Linked DNA regions of Homo sapiens: all the other regions are linked to region 1. Evidence: promoter capture Hi-C in 16 types of primary human blood cells and fetal thymus (Javierre and others, 2016). All regions are on one chromosome and are shown on one strand. The core of a region is centred on a gene start or on the middle of the fragment in contact, and the rest is flanking DNA. Distances in the headings are between cores, read along the strand shown. Region 1 holds the start of GFAP (glial fibrillary acidic protein). Region 2 overlaps HEXIM1 (HEXIM P-TEFb complex subunit 1). Region 3 overlaps PLCD3 (phospholipase C delta 3). Region 4 overlaps ADAM11 (ADAM metallopeptidase domain 11). Region 5 holds the start of NMT1 (N-myristoyltransferase 1).

Region 1 (3,514 bases), core at 1-2,500:
CTGGAGGATGAGCAGATGTGGGCTTTTGCCTTAACTCATTACTAAGGTGCCTTATCAGGGTTGGTGCACCTGCTTCTGCTCACACAGGCGCATCCACAAGCATACACTCACTGTTGCACACACACACACACACACGCACATGTCCTCCTGCACTTGAAGGCACACATGCATGTCCTGTCAGCTCAGTGAAGCGCCATGCCCCTGGGGATTCCTCTGATCCCAGGTAACCACCTTTTGAAATGAATTTTATTATGACCACCGCTTCACAGCTGTGCAAGTCAAAGTAACTTGATGGGGGTCACAAGCTGGTGGCAGGCAGTCACCTGTGCTTTGCGCCCAGACCTGCCTGCTCTTTCCCTCACTTTCTTCACCCCAGAATCCAATCTCCCTCATGGACATCAACCTTCTCCGCTTCCAACTCCTCCTTTATATGGACACAGGCTCAGAATAGGTGAGCTCGCTGCCCACAGTCACAAAGCCCAGCCATGAATGAAACACAGGGGCCCCGCTGCTCCTGCACTGCTTTCCCCAGTAGGGAGGTGCTGAGGGGACCCTGGACTCCTGGCAGAAGGCATGCGGGCATCAGATCCCCGGGGCCCTGGGCCTGTTTCTGGTCCCTCCCATCATGTTGGGGGGCAAGGATAGTGCCCCATCAAGAGGTAGGGAGGCCCAGGGAGCAGGGAGGTTCGGCCCCTCCCTGAGACTTCTCGGGCACTCCTTCTTGGGGATTCAGCCCCTTCTGCTCACAAGGCCCCCCTTCCCCATCCCCTCCTCACTTCTGCCTCACAGTGGCCAGGTCCTGTGCCAGATTGTCCCTCTCAACCTCCAGCCGGGCGCTGTTGGCGGTGAGTTGATCGAGCCGCAGCCGCAGCTCTCGCAGCTCAGCCTGGTAGACGTCTGCCAGCTTGGTGGGCTCCTTGGCCCGCAGCTGGTTCAGCTCAGCAGCCAGCGCCTTGTTTTGCTGTTCCAGGAAGCGAACCTTCTCGATGTAGCTGGCAAAGCGGTCATTGAGCTCCATCATCTCTGCCCGCTCACTGGCCCGGGTCTCCTTGAAGCCAGCATTGAGTGCCCCAGCCAGGGAGAAATCCACCCGGGTCGGGAGTGGAGGGGGCATTCGAGCCAGGGAGAGGCGGGTGCCAGGACCCAGACGGCGGCCAGGAGCCAGGCCCCCCACCATCATCTCCCCTGAGGAGACGTAGGAGCGGCGAGCAGCGGAGGTGATGCGTCTCCTCTCCATCCTGCTCTGGCTCTGCTCGCTCCTGGGATGCGAGGGCTTTATGAAGGAGTGGGCTAGACTGGCGATGCCCGGGTGCCCCTGGCAACACCCCCTGGCATAGCCTGAGGGGGTGGGGTTGGGCCGCAGCCCAGCTATGGGGAGAGCTCCCCTCACCCCACTGAGGTCACTGTGCCCAGAGGCAGAGCTTCCTGGGCACGCCAACTCCTGCATGAGGCAGGTGGTACCTGGAGCCAGACCATGGGTCTGGGGCCCTGACCGCTGAAGCAAGAGGACCCTCTCTCTAGGAAGGTGGGTCAAGAAAGGGTTGGTTGGACCATGATGAATACTTACAATTATTATGCATCAATTAAAAAGGAAGGAAAGGGCTGAGTGGGGTGGCTCATGCTTGTAATCCCAGCACTTTGGGAGGCTGAGGCTGGAGGATTGCTTGAGCCCAGTAGGTTGAGGCTGCAGTGAGCTGTGTTTGCGCCACTCCAGCCTGGGCAACAGAGAGAGACCTTGTCTCACAAAAAAAAAAAAAAAAAAGGGAAGGAAGGGCTGTACCAGATGACCTCTGACCTGCTTTCCAACTTTTTGATTTCATAACCCAGGCATTATCTCACTCAGCTGTAAGTGCCTGCAAGGTGCTGGGAATTTGGCGAAGAATGAACCTGTTCTGTACCCTCAAGGGCCACCTCATTTCCTACTAGGCCTCATTCCCAGCAGACTCCTGGAGTCCTTCCCTTGAACACAGATGTCCCACATTCCTGCTCTCTGCCCATTCATTCCCTGGAGTTCTGGGGCTGGGGGCTGGGATTGGACACCAGCCCTTTGTCTAAGGGTCAATCATGGCCTCTATGTGGCAGTGGAGGTCCTGATAGGGCAAGAGGGGGCCGGCACTCTCTTGCCTTATCAGGACTTTAGCCCCTGGATCTGTCCCTCCAGGTCACCCCTTCCTTGTCTGGCCTCCCTGTGCCTCTCTCCCAGAGACCAGGCCTTGACAGCTCCACAAAGCCGTTACACATGAGCTGGCTGTGCTGGCTCGTCTTTATTCCTGCAGCGCCCCGTTTCCCTGGCCACCCCTCCGTCTCCCACTGGAGATTTATTTCCTCGAGTTCCCACACATCAGCCTGGAGAGATGGGAAGAACCTCTGGGGATGGATGGGTTTGGAAACGCTGGAGCCACTGGGCCCAACTAGGAGCCTGAGACCTGGGCCCTGTTGTCCCTGGAGACTTCAGGTCCATCTACGCCCTCCACTCTGGTCCCACAGGGTCAGAACCCTGCCCAGTCCCCTCACCCATTTGTGTCCTTGGACTTCTGGGAAGCAGACAGCCCTCCTCTCCCCCCCTGCCACCCACTGTCCATGCCTGGGCATCCCCTGATCCCCTTTCCTGGGCACAGGCTGAATAGAGCCTTGTTCTCCACCGCCGGTGGCGCCACACAGCAAGGGCAGCCCCTAGGGGGCTGTGCTGCTTTTATCCCAAGATGCCAGGCTGTCAGGCTGGGGTGCAATGCAAGCCCCCTGCTCAATGGGCTTCTCGGAAGGCATTTGAGGGGGGCTGGGGTGCGGCGGGAAGCAGGCACTGTGCCCACCCCGAACATTGTGTCTGTGCCAAGGTGAGTCATTCACTGGGCATGAAGAGGAGGCCCTGGGGGGCGGCCAGCCCAATGCTGCCAGGTCTGCTTGCAGACAAGGCCTGGCTGTCTGCCTCCTCCCCAGCTCACAGAGCCAGCTCAGGCCCCCGAGCCTCTGTCAGAGCAGCGTCCCCTACTCCACACCAGGATATGTTCTTTTTTTTTTTTTTTTTTTTTTTGTCTTTTGAGACAGGGTCTCACTGTTGCCCAGGCTGGAGTGCAGTGGCGCAACCACGACTCACTGCAGCCTCAACCTCCCAGCCTTAAGTGATCCCCTCACCTCAGCCTCCTGAATAGCTGGGACTACAGGTGTGTGTCACCACACGTGGCTGATTTTTTAACTTTTTTTGTAGAGATAGGGTCTTGCCATGTTGCCCAGGCTGGTCTAGAACTTCTGGGCTCAAGTGATCCTTCCACATCAGCCTCCCAAAGTGCTGGAATTACAGTTGTGCGCCACTGCGCCCAGCCCAGGGTATGCTCTGCATTTGGACATGTGATGGACAGACTGCCTCCTGAGGTCTCCCTCTGTGAGTCCCAGCACAGAGAGGGAGGTGGGAGCTCCTTAGGCTCTAGTCACATCTGACCTGGGCGTAAGCAGTGACATAGGAAAGAGCATCTTGAAGACGGGGTGAGCGCCCAGTGACCTTTGATCCTGCTATGAA
Region 2 (3,514 bases), core at 38-2,537, 230 kb after region 1:
GGGAGATGAGTTTGTCTGTCCTCTGCTGAGGCTACGGCCGGGCCTAGGGAACTGGGAGCTTGGGTGGAAGCGACACCCGTGGAAGTGGGAGGAGGTGGCGCCGGGACTTTAACCCCTTGTGGGCTCTGCGGCAGGGGATTTAACCCTTTGTGGATCTGGCCCCTCGGAGGCAGCGTCATCGGTAGTTTTAACCCCTTCGGGGCTGGGTTTCACGCACTGGACTTACCCTCATCACCTTGCTCACCAACTCCTTTATTGGGGTGCTCCGCTTGGAGGTTTGAGGCCCACCTCCGCCCATTACGTACTGTTCCTGCCGCTGCACCCCCTTGGACCCGCTAGCTGGCCGCACTGTGGGCGCTTAACCCTTTACTGACTTGAGCTCCCCAGATTGCAGTTGGAGTTTGCTGATAGAAGGACTAGCTAAAGGCGTCACTGCAGGAATTACAAACTGAAGAGGACTCTGTTGGACTGTTTTTTTTTTCTTTTTCTTTTTTTTAAGAAAAACCCATTTTTTTCCTTAAGGACTTACTAGCCAAAATTTCTTAAACTTCGAGGACTCTACTAGCCATGGCCGAGCCATTCTTGTCAGAATATCAACACCAGCCTCAAACTAGCAACTGTACAGGTGCTGCTGCTGTCCAGGAAGAGCTGAACCCTGAGCGCCCCCCAGGCGCGGAGGAGCGGGTGCCCGAGGAGGACAGTAGGTGGCAATCGAGAGCGTTCCCCCAGTTGGGTGGCCGTCCGGGGCCGGAGGGGGAAGGGAGCCTGGAATCCCAACCACCTCCCTTGCAGACCCAGGCCTGTCCAGAATCTAGCTGCCTGAGAGAGGGCGAGAAGGGCCAGAATGGGGACGACTCGTCCGCTGGCGGCGACTTCCCGCCGCCGGCAGAAGTGGAACCGACGCCCGAGGCCGAGCTGCTCGCCCAGCCTTGTCATGACTCCGAGGCCAGTAAGTTGGGGGCTCCTGCCGCAGGGGGCGAAGAGGAGTGGGGACAGCAGCAGAGACAGCTGGGGAAGAAAAAACATAGGAGACGCCCGTCCAAGAAGAAGCGGCATTGGAAACCGTACTACAAGCTGACCTGGGAAGAGAAGAAAAAGTTCGACGAGAAACAGAGCCTTCGAGCTTCAAGGATCCGAGCCGAGATGTTCGCCAAGGGCCAGCCGGTCGCGCCCTATAACACCACGCAGTTCCTCATGGATGATCACGACCAGGAGGAGCCGGATCTCAAAACCGGCCTGTACTCCAAGCGGGCCGCCGCCAAATCCGACGACACCAGCGATGACGACTTCATGGAAGAAGGGGGTGAGGAGGATGGGGGCAGCGATGGGATGGGAGGGGACGGCAGCGAGTTTCTGCAGCGGGACTTCTCGGAGACGTACGAGCGGTACCACACGGAGAGCCTGCAGAACATGAGCAAGCAGGAGCTCATCAAGGAGTACCTGGAACTGGAGAAGTGCCTCTCGCGCATGGAGGACGAGAACAACCGGCTGCGGCTGGAGAGCAAGCGGCTGGGTGGCGACGACGCGCGTGTGCGGGAGCTGGAGCTGGAGCTGGACCGGCTGCGCGCCGAGAACCTCCAGCTGCTGACCGAGAACGAACTGCACCGGCAGCAGGAGCGAGCGCCGCTTTCCAAGTTTGGAGACTAGACTGAAACTTTTTTGGGGGAGGGGGCAAAGGGGACTTTTTACAGTGATGGAATGTAACATTATATACATGTGTATATAAGACAGTGGACCTTTTTATGACACATAATCAGAAGAGAAATCCCCCTGGCTTTGGTTTCGTAAATTTAGCTATATGTAGCTTGCGTGCTTTCTCCTGTTCTTTTAATTATGTGAAACTGAAGAGTTGCTTTTCTTGTTTTCCTTTTTAGAAGTTTTTTTCCTTAATGTGAAAGTAATTTGACCAAGTTATAATGCATTTTTGTTTTTAACAAATCCCCTCCTTAAACGGAGCTATAAGGTGGCCAAATCTGAGAACAATTAAATTCATTTTAGTTATAATAAATTTAATATTTGTAAATGTAACATAGTTTCAGTGTGATTTCTAGAGCTAATTCAAAATAGTATTGATATATTTTATGTGACTGCATTTTTGGGGAGGGGTACCGAAATCGTTAAATTTGTCAGTTTGCAAAAATATCAATCTTTAATGGGAGAATTTTCAATTTGCCAATTTTTTCCTTGAATGGGTTTAAGTATGCTACAATATACAGTTCAGGCAAAATTTAAGATGTAATTATCTTCAATACTTAAGTGTGCTTGCTTTCTAGTGCCTTGGTTTTCTTTCTTGATGCTGGAAAAATAAACAAACCGGTATTGAGTGTTTAGGCGAGTGGAAAGTGGCTACAATCCAAAATTTTAAATTTAACTCTGCCTCGGCCATTCAAAAGTCTAATAACAAAAAATGTAAACCTAATTTGGCAGTTTGTTAGGTTAGACAACTGACAGCCTCATTTCATTCCTACAAGTTGGTTTTCAGTAATCTCTTCCTTCCCCCCAGTAAGGCTGGAAGAGGCTCTTGGCAAACTTCTTAGTGCAAGCAATGGTTAGATTAATTTGTGAGGCAGCTCTTTAAGACGTTCAGAGGTAAGAAATACTGGATTTATAAAGCAAATGGCTGTTTGGGGGATTCCAAGGATTTACCTAATTGTCCAATTCTACGTGCTCTCTATACCAAAACAAAAAAAAAAAGCTATCCACCTTTCCATGTGGGTCAAACTAAAATTAGAAATGTCCCCTCACTGCAGATCAAATGTAAAGCTTCCAGTTAAGGAGCTAAATGAGGTCCTCAGCTGAATGAGGAACCCTGTACATCCCCTTGCACAGCCCTATTCTAAATCGCTTAAACTATGCTGATAGCTGCTTAGGTTCTTGAGTAGTTCTGCTCTTAAACGTAGGGAGGCCCTGAGAACTAAATTTTGCCCCAAAATAAAAACAGAAATTATGAGATTGCCTCCTGTCATTTTGGTTAACCCAGTCCTTCACCTGCCCTGTGTCAGTGTCTTCTGAGGGCAATTGCGTTGCTCAAATCACTAGCACAGAGGTTCCTTAATTTGGGGCCTTAGAAACCATTGTGGGCCTTGGGGTCCATGAACCCCATGAAATTATTTGTAGACTTGTATGTACATTTTTCTGGGGAGAAGGTTCAAGAGATTCATAAGATTGTCAAACTCCTTGAAGGTTCAGAACCTCTGCAGGGAAGGGGGAAGAAAACCCTCCCATTAGGAAGCATGCTTTTGCAGTTAAATGGCGATGGTGGAGGTGATAGGGACTTCAAGAGTAAAATGCACCTTGTATTGCATAAGAAGCATACACAAATCAATAAATCAAGGGAGATTATACCAGTAGGACTGAATCAGGGCCTTCAAAGCTGGACTGAGTTGGTCCTGTTCTGGCACATATGGTCCACTGGAGACAATGTATGATTGAGTTTTTCTTTGGTCTAAAAATTATATTAAACATTTATTTTGAAATAGTTTTCTTCGTGTTTTTTTCTTCTGCTATGACGTCA
Region 3 (3,514 bases), core at 396-2,895, 210 kb after region 1:
CGGAAGCCCACCTTGAAGAGGAGGTAGGCGTACATGTCGTTCATGTCCACGTTGACCATTCTCAGCAGGCTCTTGATCTCCTTGAAGCTCATCTTGCTGTCCTGGTTGGAGTCAGCCCGGTGCAGATAGGAGTGGATCCAGGTGTGGGTGCTCAGGAAATAACAGCAACACGCCAGGCTGCCCCCAGCCCTCAGGTAACTGGCTGGTAAGTCACCCCCACCTGGGTCTGGGGGATCCCCAGTTTAGGGGCTGTACTTTCCCCTTGGCCTGTGCACTCCCCGAGCACGGTAGCAGTGTCTCCTCCGCAGGACTGGGGCTTACCAAAGACAGGAGGCCCTGTCTTCACCCTCAGAAGGCCTCAGGCCTCCCTGAAGGAGGCGCCGCGCCACCCCTCCTGGTGGGAGCTTGGGCCTAGCCAGGGCGCGTGTCCCCACCCTCAGTTTCGAAGACCAAGGGCTCCGACCCAGACCGTGCGCCCTCAGGACAGGGCCCTGCCTTCCCTGGGCGTGGGGGCTCTCCAAGGATGGGGCTCTCCAAGGTTAGGGCTCTCCAAGGATGGGGCCCTCCCTCCCAGCCCCGGCAGGATATTGGTCTAGCCGCTCGCGCTGGCTCATGGCGTCCAGGCGCGCGCGGAGCTTGGTCAGACCGCGCACCCAGCGCTGCGCTTCCTCAGCCGTGGGCGCCGCCAGGTCCAGGTTCTTGCGGCGGCCCTTGAAGGCGATGGTGAGGCAGCGCGCTGGCGCGAAGGCACCCCCGAAGCGCCGCAGGCCCTCGGACTGGTGGCCCTCGCGGACCGCCTCGATGTGCTGCACGAAGACTGAGAGGAGGGCCGGGTCAGGGCGGAGGACCGGGCCTGTCCCCACCTCCCTGTCCGCCCGGCGCTCCCCGGCCTCTCACAGATGTGCTGCGATGGCGCACGCGGGATGCGCCGCTGGAACCACACGCTCAGGCCGTCCTCCTGCAGCCGGTACAGCCGCTCCTTGTGCCACGTGCGCGAGCGGATCTTGCGGAGCCGGGAGCCCCGCAGCATGGCGCGCACGTCCTCGTCCTCCGTCAGGCCTGGCGGGGCGGGAGGACCCGGGGCGTCAGGCCGTACCTGCCCAGAGGCTCCCCTGCCCTCCCCCGCTAGGACCTGCTGCCCCATCCTCCAGCCTCTCCAAACCCAGGCCTTCATCCCACAGTAAGCTTCCCTCCCCCTCACAGGACTCCCCTCCTCCCCGATTGTAAGAAGCCTCCTGCACTGGGTTTGGCTTTAGGCTTTGGAGCCCTAAACGCCCCCCAACCCGTACCCCATCTCCCTCCTTCCTTCCAAGCAGCGGCCTCTGCAGTCCCTCAGTGTGGAACTGCCCTCGGACAATGCCTGGGACTCAGGCCTCACTAAAGGTTGCCCTTTCTGGCAGGGCGCGGTGGCTCACGCCTATAATCTCAGCACTTGGGAGGCCGAGGTGGGTGGATCACTTGAGGTCGGGAGTTCGAGACCAGCCTGGCCAACATGGTGCAACCCCACCTCTACTAAAAATACAAAATTAGCTGGGTGTGGTGGCACATGCCTGTAATCCCAGCTACTTAGGAGGCTGAGGTTGCCATGAGCCAAGATTGTGCCACTGCACTGCAGCCTAAGCGACAGAGTGAGACTGCGTCTTAACAAAAAAAAAAAAAAATTGCCTTTTCTGCCACTATCCCCCACCACATGGCTTCCAGCCTTCAAGTCCAGAATTTGCCACCAACAGCCTTTTTCCCTTGATGTGAAACCGTAGCCATCAGGAAGGTCTCACCATCTAACCTAGATCTCTCTTGCTGTAACCCAAGCACCTTGCCTCTGCTTTCCCAAAGACAAGGAGGACAGCAGAGGCCACCCTGGCTCCAGGGTCACAGGCCAAGGACTCCAGGATCAGCCCTGCCCAGCTGATCTCCAGGCATGGGAGGCTGAGGCATGAGAATCACTTGAATCCGGGAGGCGGAGGTTGCAGTGAGCCAAGATTGCGCCACTGCACTCCAGCTTGGGCAACAGAGTGAGACTCTGTCTCTAAAAAATAAATAAATAAAAGCATCTCCTGTGTGCAGGCCCTGCTCATGTACTAATAGACAAGGAAACTGAGGCTCAGGGAAGCTTAAGTAAGTTGTCAGAATTCCATACTGGTAGAAGCCACTTTGGGCTCTGGAGGTCGGGGTCCAGCGCCTCTGACCTTTGGCCCTGCACTGCACGGCTCTTCTAGTGCTTCTAAATTCCGAAGTCTGGGGAGTAAGTCTCAACACTGTCACTTCCCAGTTATTTAATACATGGCCCCAGTGGCACTAACCTGTCACTAAGCCTCATGTTCTCCATCCATAAAATGGAGACCACAATCATACCTGCTGCAAAATCCAAAATTCAGAGGTTTCTACAGCGTGACCGACACTGTGCCCCGGAGAGTTTCGGCCCTCTCCTGGCTCTGGCCCCCTGGAACACGTGATGCCCAGCCCAAACAGTGCCACACCCTGCTCTACAATGCCTCAACGAGAGTCACAACCAAAGATTTTTGAGTCAGAGGACAATAGAGGAGGTGGGAACTGGGTAAACGGAGAGTCCATGGCCTTTGGAGGTGGGGCACAGCCCGGAGTGAATGAGGGCCCAGAGTTTCCAGAGAACCGAATATAGATCTGTGTGTGAAGCCTCCAGATATTCTAATGTTGACAACGAAATCAAATTGAAAAAAAATAAAAATCAATAACCCCTGTGTGGGCCAAAAGAAGTAAGACAGAGGGCCTCTCTTCCTCCCTTTATTTCGACAAGCCCCTAATACTGGGTTTGGCTTTGTGACCCCAAGGCCCTGGCTTGCCCAATTGCAAATTCTGACCTAAGGAATTGAGTCTATATCTCTGGACCATCTCCTCTCACCCTCTCTTGGACCCTTTTGTAGGATCCTTCTCCCTTCTCTTCCTCCTATCTGAGTCCTTGAAGGACCAGTTCAGATATCACCTCCTCCAGGAACCCTTCCTTGATTTGTCCTCAAGTGGACATTCTCCCTCTCTGACCACTAACAGCACTTTTTGCTTTAATTAAAATAAAACACAAAACCCACCTATATACTTTAATAAATCTGAGGGCGGAATGAGGTCTTATCTCCTCACCACAGTGCTCATCCCAGAGCCAGGATACCAGCTAGTGTTGACTGAAGGGGCAGACAGGTAGACGGACAGATGGGGGGACTAAGTGAATTCTATCCCCAGCTCTGCCCCATCTGTCCAGAGTTCAGGACAGAGGCCTCGCAGGGCAGAGGCCTCGCAGGTCAGGGTTTCTCAACCTTAGCTGTGCATCGGAATTACCCAGGGGAGGCTGCAGACACCACAGCCCAGGGCATCTCACCCAGCTGGTGTGGGATGGGGCCTGGGCATCTGTATTTTTAAAACCCACTTTGACCATGACTGAAAATCAGGGTCTCAGGGGCAAGAGGAGAAATCCACCTCCTTAAGAGGCCATGACCCCTTGGGGCCAGCCTGTGGCCCTAACAGCTCCAGAGGGTCCCTCAGGGTC
Region 4 (3,514 bases), core at 548-3,047, 140 kb before region 1:
AGCAGCTCTCCCTCCCTCCCTTCCCTCCTCCTCATGCCCCCCACCCCACCACACACATTAGGGGGCACTGTCAGCCCCTGGCTCCCACTTCCTGGAGAGAACAGACAGGCCCTCCTCCAGCCCTGGCCCCAACACCCACTCCCACCCTCCAGCCCCCTCATCTTCTCCCCAGATATACAAGGAGCAGCTCAACACTCGCATCGTCCTGGTTGCCATGGAAACATGGGCAGATGGGGACAAGATCCAGGTGCAGGATGACCTCCTGGAGACCCTGGCCCGGCTCATGGTCTACCGACGGGAGGGTCTGCCTGAGCCCAGTGATGCCACCCACCTCTTCTCGTGAGTCCCCCACCCTGCACCTCCTGCCAGCCTCTGCTAGTTGCTACAGTGCTTGGGATTACTTAACACCTGCCCTGTGCTGGCTGCTCCTCTCAGAGTCTGGGGACTGGGCTCACCTTGCACCTGCCACCTACCCCCAGCCACATGCAACAGCTGGGCATCATCCCCTGAATCTGAGGTTGATGCCCTTGTCTTAGCCCTGGTGGTCCTCTTCTGCCTCTCACCTCCCCTTAGTTCTGTCTTTCCCCTTTCAAACTGTCCCAGCATCCCTTCCTCAGGGACCCAGTGCCCTAGTAGGGAAAAAAATCTAATAAAAGGGCCTTGCAACTAGAGATGGTCTACTGGGAGCCTCTCCTTTGCCTTATGGGCAAAAGAACCCAAGGAGGGGCCAGGCGTGGTGGCTCATGCCTGTAATCTCAGCACTTTGGGAGGCCAAGGCGGGTAGATCATTTCAGGTTACGAGTTTAAGACCAGCCTGGCCAACATGGTGAAACCCCATCTCAAAATACAAAAATTAGCCAGGCGTGGTGGTGTGCACCTGTAGTCCCAGCTACTCGGGAGGCTGAGGCAGGAGAATCGTTTGAACCCAGGAGGTGGAGATTGCAGTGAGCTGAGATGGTGCCACTGCACTCCAACCTGGACCACAAGAGTGAAACTCTGTCTCAAAAGAAAAAAGAAAAAGAAAGAAAAAAAAGAACCCAAGGAGGGGGGGAAGGGTCTTGCCTGGGGTCACCAAGGCTGATGTAAAGGGCCAGGCTCACCTCCTGAGGAAGGACTCTAGTGTGAGGGGCTCCCCAAGGCCCCACCACCACCCGGGGAGCCACAGGGGAGGGCAGGAGGCCATCCTGACAGCGCACTCCCTTCCAGGGGCAGGACCTTCCAGAGCACGAGCAGCGGGGCAGCCTACGTGGGGGGCATATGCTCCCTGTCCCACGGCGGGGGTGTGAACGAGGTGAGCAGTGGGGGGACATGGCTGGGGTGGCGGCTGAGGGAAAGGGGCTTCAGGGGCACGACGTGCCTGTTGGAAGATGTAGACATCTGTGCCCCATCTTCCCCACCCCCAGTACGGCAACATGGGGGCGATGGCCGTGACCCTTGCCCAGACGCTGGGACAGAACCTGGGCATGATGTGGAACAAACACCGGAGCTCGGCAGGTATCCTCCCCCAGAGGCCCCCGTGTGGCCCACGCCCAGCAGCTCTGGAACGGGAGGGTGACAGTGGGAGGGGTGGTCCTTGGCCTCCCTCATATCCGCCTGGCTCACCCCTCAGGGGACTGCAAGTGTCCAGACATCTGGCTGGGCTGCATCATGGAGGACACTGGGTGAGTTCTTGGGGACAAACCGGGGGAAGGTCTTGGGCGAGGGGAGTCTTAGAGCGAGCATTGTTTGGCAGTCTGGACCAGGGGGCTCAAGAGGCCCAGCTCACAGAACCACTCAGGATCCCAAGAAGCCCAGTTTTCCGCAAACACTGCCCCGGGAGACCCAGATTTCCCTGCTGGGACACCAAAACCGGCCAGGCTGCAGTGCGCATCGTGGCCACTGGGCGCCGCCCAAGCCTCGCATGGAGACACCTTCCCTCCAGCGCGGCTGCGAGTCCCCAGGTTCAGCGGAGGGGATGGGAGCGACAGGGACAGGCGGGAGGATTCTGGTGCAATCCCGGGGCAGATCCTCCGCCTCCTCGCGATGGTGACGAAGTCCCCCAGTGTACCCCCTCCCCAGCCTTGAGAGGGGTGAGGGTGGGTTGGAGGGGAGCAGCCAGCAGCACCTCCCCTCGCCCTATCCAGGTTCTACCTGCCCCGCAAGTTCTCGCGCTGTAGCATCGACGAGTACAACCAGTTTCTGCAGGAGGGTGGTGGCAGCTGCCTCTTCAACAAGCCCCTCAAGGTACCAGCCCCGCGGCGGGGAGCATGGGAGCGGGCCCTGGGCGGGGTCCGGGCCAGACTCCCGACCTGTCCTCCCGGTCCAGCTCCTGGACCCCCCAGAGTGCGGGAACGGCTTCGTGGAGGCAGGGGAGGAGTGCGACTGCGGCTCGGTGCAGGTGAGCGGTGGTGCGGGCGCCAGGTGGGGAACCGGGATGCGGGGGTGGGCACGAGGGAGCGTCTGAGTGGGAGGATTAGGGCTCGCCCGCCTCCTTCCCCTCCTCCCGCGTCCCTCAGGAGTGCAGCCGCGCAGGTGGCAACTGCTGCAAGAAATGCACCCTGACTCACGACGCCATGTGCAGCGACGGGCTCTGCTGTCGCCGCTGCAAGGTAAGCAGGACCGGCCGGGAGGCGGGGCCAGGACGCAGGAGGAGCGATTGGAGGCCTTCATATAAGGGGTGGGAGCTAGGGAGGGAAGCGGAGCCTTCGGGGACGAAGGCCTCTGGGGCAGGGCTTGATGCGAAGACAGCGCCAATGGGGAGCAAGGGGCGGGGCTGAAGGATGTTGAAGGCGGGGCTACGAGGAGCGGGAAGGGAAGGCTGCCCAGAATCAAGGAGGGGCGGGAAGGTGGGCGGGCTTGGGGGCGGTGCTGAGTGCGCTGGGAGCGAGGTGGGGAGCGTTCAAGAGGTGGTGGGAGCAGGGAAATAAGAACAGGCCTGAAACGGGGCCCTGGGGAGCTGGAGGGCCCGGGGATGTGGGGGTCCAGAGAGCGAGGGGCCTGGGGAGGGCAGGGCCGAGGCATCCATCCTGCCTGACTCGAGGAGCGCGTCTCTTCCCTAGTACGAACCACGGGGTGTGTCCTGCCGAGAGGCCGTGAACGAGTGCGACATCGCGGAGACCTGCACCGGGGACTCTAGCCAGGTCCGCCCGGCCCCGCCGTCTTGTGGAGCCCTGGGCGAGGCAACCCCTACCCTTGTCGATTTGGTTTTCCCGGACGAGTGCTCAGCACTCCCCTCCTCTCCACAGCTGGCATCGACCTCCACTGATCAGACTGTTTTCTTATCTGAGAAAGGGGTTCTTCATGCTCCTGGCCTTGTTCCTTCAATCATTAAACCAGAATGTATCGTCTGGCTGGTATTCCCAGCGCCTGGCCCGGTGCCTGGTGTAGGTTAGGGATCAGAGTAGACGATAATATTAGTTAACATCTATTACAACCTAATTACATGCCAGGCATTTATCTCCCAGCCCTACGAGGGAGGGAGGCTGGAGCGGCTCTGGGGCTTGCAAATCCGTGTGGTCTGGGTCCAGAACCAGAC
Region 5 (3,514 bases), core at 255-2,754, 150 kb after region 1:
AAGGTCAATATGGCCAGGTACGGTGGCTCACACCTCTAATCCCAGCACTTTGGGAGGCCGAAATGGGCAGATCACGAGGTCAGGAGTTCGAGACCAGCCTGACCAACATGGTGAAACCCCGTCTCTACTAAAAATACAAAAATTAGCCAGGTGTGGTGGCGTGCGCCTTTAATCCCAGCTACTCAGGAGGCCGAGGCAAGAGAATCGCTTGAACCCAGGAGGCGAAGGTTGCAGTGAGCCGAGATCGCACCACTGCACTCCAGCCTGGGAGTCAGAGAGAGACTCCGTCTCAAAACAAAACAAAACAAAACAAAGGTTGAATAATAATAATAGGACCTATATTGTAGACTTGTTGAGAGGATTAAATGAGATAATGTACGAAATGCCTTACTACAGAGTCTGGCACTTATTAAAGAAAGAGTTGATGTGGGCTGGGTGCCGTGGCTCACGTCTGTAATCCCAGCACTTTGCGGGGTTGGGGTAGGAAGATCCTTAGAGGCCAGGAGTTCGAGACCAGCCTGGGCAACAAGGCGAGACCCTCGTCTCTACAAAAAATATATAAATTATCCGGGTGTGGTGGCTCATGCCTATAGTCCTAGGTACTTGGGAGGCTGAGGTGGGAGGATACCTTGATTGCAGTGAGCTGTGATCTTGAGCCATTGCGCTCCAGCCTGGGCGACAGAAGGCGGCCGTATTTAAAAAAGAAAAAAGAAAGAAAGAAAGAAAAGAAAAGAAAAAAAGGGTCGTTGTGGAAAATTCTTGTGGGGAATTAAAGGGACCACGTGTGCGCGAAAGAGCTTGGCGAAGATAAGTACCTGGAGGCCAAGATGAGGCGGCGAGCCCTGCCTCCCTAGCAGTGTGGTCTCCTGGCTTAGGGTCAGTGCTTCGCACAAAAAAATCCACTGCCTCTCATGAGACCTTGAACTGCCAATGACCGCAGGTTGCCCAGACTCCCGAGTGAGGAAGGCGGCCAGGAGTCAACTAGGCTTCTTGCGGAAAAGCCCACTCTAAGAAGGCCTGGGGCATTCCGGCTCCAGGCAGGTAGCACCCGCGGGCCTCAGGCCCTTTCACTTACCCGGGAAACGTAACGGTCCTTAACGGCAGCCAATAACGGCTCCCAGCGGCCCAGGCACTGGCAAGGGCAGGCTGAAATCAAACCTCGGATTTTGGAACCTCCACGCCTGAAACCCTAAACCAGCATCGAACTACAACTCCCATCATGCCAGGCGGCCGCCCGGTTCCCAAGGGTCGGTCCCACCAACCTTGCGCCCCTTCTTTCCTCAAAGCGTGGCCGAATGCCTAGGCTTCCGGGTATCAGTGGCCCCGCCTCTTAATCCGACCGGAGCCGTCCCTCGTGATTCCTGGGTATTGTAGTCAGTTTCCTGGGAAAGAGTCGCTCCTAGTGGCAGCTCGCTTCGCCAGAAAAACTACAAAACCCAGAATGCAGCGCAAATTCCCCTTGTCCAATAGGAACCCCCCATGTAGTGGGGCGCGGAGCCCTGCTCTCGCAACTCAAGATGGCGGACGAGAGTGAGACAGCAGTGAAGCCGCCGGCACCTCCGCTGCCGCAGATGATGGAAGGGAACGGGAACGGCCATGAGCACTGCAGCGATTGCGAGAATGAGGAGGACAACAGCTACAACCGGGGGTAACGAAATCCTCGGAGTCCAATTCCCGTCCAGCCTCCCACAACCTGGGTCTCTGGGGTGCGGGGAAGTCACCGGGAGCTTAGTCTAGCCCCACCCTCATGTTCTTATTGGCTAAGTCACTAGGATTCTGCCTGGCGATTGGTTATTGCCTTTGTCATTTACCAAGGGTGGGTGCTCTGGATATTAAGGGCCGGAGACGTTCAGTACTTTTATTATATAAAAGTTCTATGCAGTGTTCCACTCGTGTGCTTCAGGCCATTCCTGGGAAAAGAGCATGTTGGACGATGGTTTTCGATGGTACAACACAGGACAGTCTAGTAACAGTACAGTTCAAAGGGAACGTTACTTATAGACGTGTTGTTTGAACAACGTGACTAGCAATAAACGAATCATAAAACATTTCGCAGCAGTTCACCCTCAGTGAGGAAACTCATCAGACTATACAAACTGTATGTATAATTATATTGTAAAATATCACTACCAGAGAATCCCAAAATATAAACTCACCTTATAAACCTATGTAATTAACGGTATGGTAATGCTTTGATTTACATAGTTTCCATTGCTCCAAATAATCCATAAGTATCCTGAACGATATATTAATATAATTAAGTCTTCGAACATCTTTGCCTTGTTACCTTTGCAGAGCAGCCCCAGGCTTCAAGAAATGAGCGATGTTGTTTCTTGGAGAGTATTTGGAATCCTCGGGCTCCATACTGCCTATCCTGTACTTTAGGGTCTTGCCATTAGTTACTATTTGTTCCTAGGGATGAAGAAACACACCAGGCATTTGAATGTTGAATTCTTTTCCCAAATTAGTTTTTACTTCTGTAAGCCACAGCTTATTCATCTTTCTTCACATGGTTAGTGCCTGGCACTGGCACTCACGCTGTCTCTCCCCATCTTCCTGTCTATATTTGTAGATATATTTTTAAACTGAAAGTCGTGAGAGATTTTTGGGTGTATAACTTGCTGAGTCTGAGGTAGTCTGATTTTCGTAGCCAGCTTGTTATTCGCAGTATTGGTGGCAGTGCAGATATAAAGGTATAAAGACCAAGGACTGCGTAGAAGAGATGGTCCCACAAGATTATAGTACATATTTTTATTGTATCCTTTCTATGTTTAGGTATGCTTAGATACACAAATACTTACCATTGTATTATAGTTGCCTGCAGTACTCAGTAACATGCAGCAGCCTATTGCTCCTAGGCTACAAACCTGTATAGCATGTTACTGTAATGTACACCATATAGCCTAGGCATTTAGTAGGCTATACCATCTAGATTTGTGTAAGTACACCCTATAATGTTGGCAAGGCAAAAATCACCTAACCATGCATTTCCCAGCACATATGCCTGACGTTCAGTGAAGCATGACTGTATTTAAGTGGTTTATAATCTGCTTGTGGTAAATCTTAGGTTAAAAGATCTAGCTTTTATGTTCTTCAGCCGGCATTAAAAATCACAGGAAGGGCCGGGCATGGTGGCTCATGCCTGTAATCCCAGTACTTTGGGAGGCAGATCACGAGGTCAGGAGATCGAGACCATCCTGGCTAACACTGTGAAATCCCATCTCTACTAAAAATACAAAAAATTTAGCCGGGCGTGGTGGCGGGCGCCTGTAGTCCCAACTACTCGGGAGGCTAAGGCAGGAGAATGGCGTGAACCCAGGAGGCAGAGCTTGCAGTGAGCTGAGATCACGCCACTGCACTCCAGCCTGGGCGACAGAGCGAGACTCCGACTCAAAAAAAAAAAAAAAAAAAAAAAATCACAGGAAGAAAGTAGAGGAATAGGAAGCTTGCCAAATTTAGTTTTTATAAGACTGTTCTGTTGCTGTAACTCACAACAGATCTAATGTAATAAAAG

What was found. Contacts are between HindIII fragments. The CHiCAGO score rates a contact against its expected background, and 5 or more counts as called.
Region 2: a fragment that was not itself captured here is called in contact with the fragment with the promoter of GFAP in region 1 in 3 of 17 cell types (endothelial precursors, monocytes and megakaryocytes); the score reaches 6.9 in endothelial precursors.
Region 3: a fragment that was not itself captured here is called in contact with the fragment with the promoter of GFAP in region 1 in 10 of 17 cell types (endothelial precursors, megakaryocytes, erythroblasts and 7 more); the score reaches 14.2 in endothelial precursors.
Region 4: a fragment that was not itself captured here is called in contact with the fragment with the promoter of GFAP in region 1 in 1 of 17 cell types (endothelial precursors); the score reaches 5.9 in endothelial precursors.
Region 5: a contact is called between the fragment with the promoter of NMT1 here and the fragment with the promoter of GFAP in region 1, in 1 of 17 cell types (endothelial precursors). The highest score is 5.1, in endothelial precursors.

The regions. Positions count from the first base shown.
Region 1 is chr17:44,914,250-44,917,763 of GRCh38, forward strand. GFAP (glial fibrillary acidic protein) reads right to left here and starts at 1,251. Exons shown (of 9, transcript NM_002055.5): 1 at 777-1,251. The coding sequence starts at 1,237. The HindIII fragment of the contact is 16,653 bases long and covers 1-3,514 here.
Region 2 is chr17:45,148,624-45,152,137 of GRCh38, forward strand. It overlaps HEXIM1 (HEXIM P-TEFb complex subunit 1), which reads left to right. Exons shown (of 1, transcript NM_006460.3): 1 at 1-3,476. The coding sequence starts at 568. The coding sequence ends at 1,647. It overlaps HEXIM2-AS1 (HEXIM2 antisense RNA 1), which reads right to left. Exons shown (of 3, transcript NR_186789.1): 3 at 1,039-2,296. Among named protein-coding and RNA genes, the nearest start is that of HEXIM1, 1.9 kb to the left of the region's middle. RefSeq lists enhancers at 241-290, 341-390, 441-550, 955-1,510, 1,181-1,240. The HindIII fragment of the contact is 2,947 bases long and covers 1-2,761 here.
Region 3 is chr17:45,120,314-45,123,827 of GRCh38, forward strand. PLCD3 (phospholipase C delta 3) reads right to left here. Exons shown (of 15, transcript NM_133373.5): 2 at 898-1,059; 3 at 589-817; 4 at 12-141. Among named protein-coding and RNA genes, the nearest start is that of MIR6784, 7.6 kb to the left of the region's middle. RefSeq lists an enhancer at 456-993. The HindIII fragment of the contact is 925 bases long and covers 1,184-2,108 here.
Region 4 is chr17:44,773,089-44,776,602 of GRCh38, forward strand. It overlaps ADAM11 (ADAM metallopeptidase domain 11), which reads left to right. Exons shown (of 27, transcript NM_002390.6): 11 at 173-339; 12 at 1,207-1,291; 13 at 1,404-1,494; 14 at 1,610-1,661; 15 at 2,124-2,223; 16 at 2,306-2,377; 17 at 2,496-2,588; 18 at 3,039-3,119. Among named protein-coding and RNA genes, the nearest start is that of ADAM11, 16 kb to the left of the region's middle. RefSeq lists a silencer at 2,803-3,122 and an enhancer at 2,960-3,460. The HindIII fragment of the contact is 6,017 bases long and covers 1-3,514 here.
Region 5 is chr17:45,059,813-45,063,326 of GRCh38, forward strand. It overlaps NMT1 (N-myristoyltransferase 1), which reads left to right and starts at 1,505. Exons shown (of 12, transcript NM_021079.5): 1 at 1,505-1,648. The coding sequence starts at 1,518. It also overlaps a transcript of DCAKD not described here. RefSeq lists enhancers at 285-1,276, 1,136-1,315, 1,277-2,268, 1,416-1,775, 1,629-1,923 and 1 more. The HindIII fragment of the contact is 9,198 bases long and covers 1-3,443 here.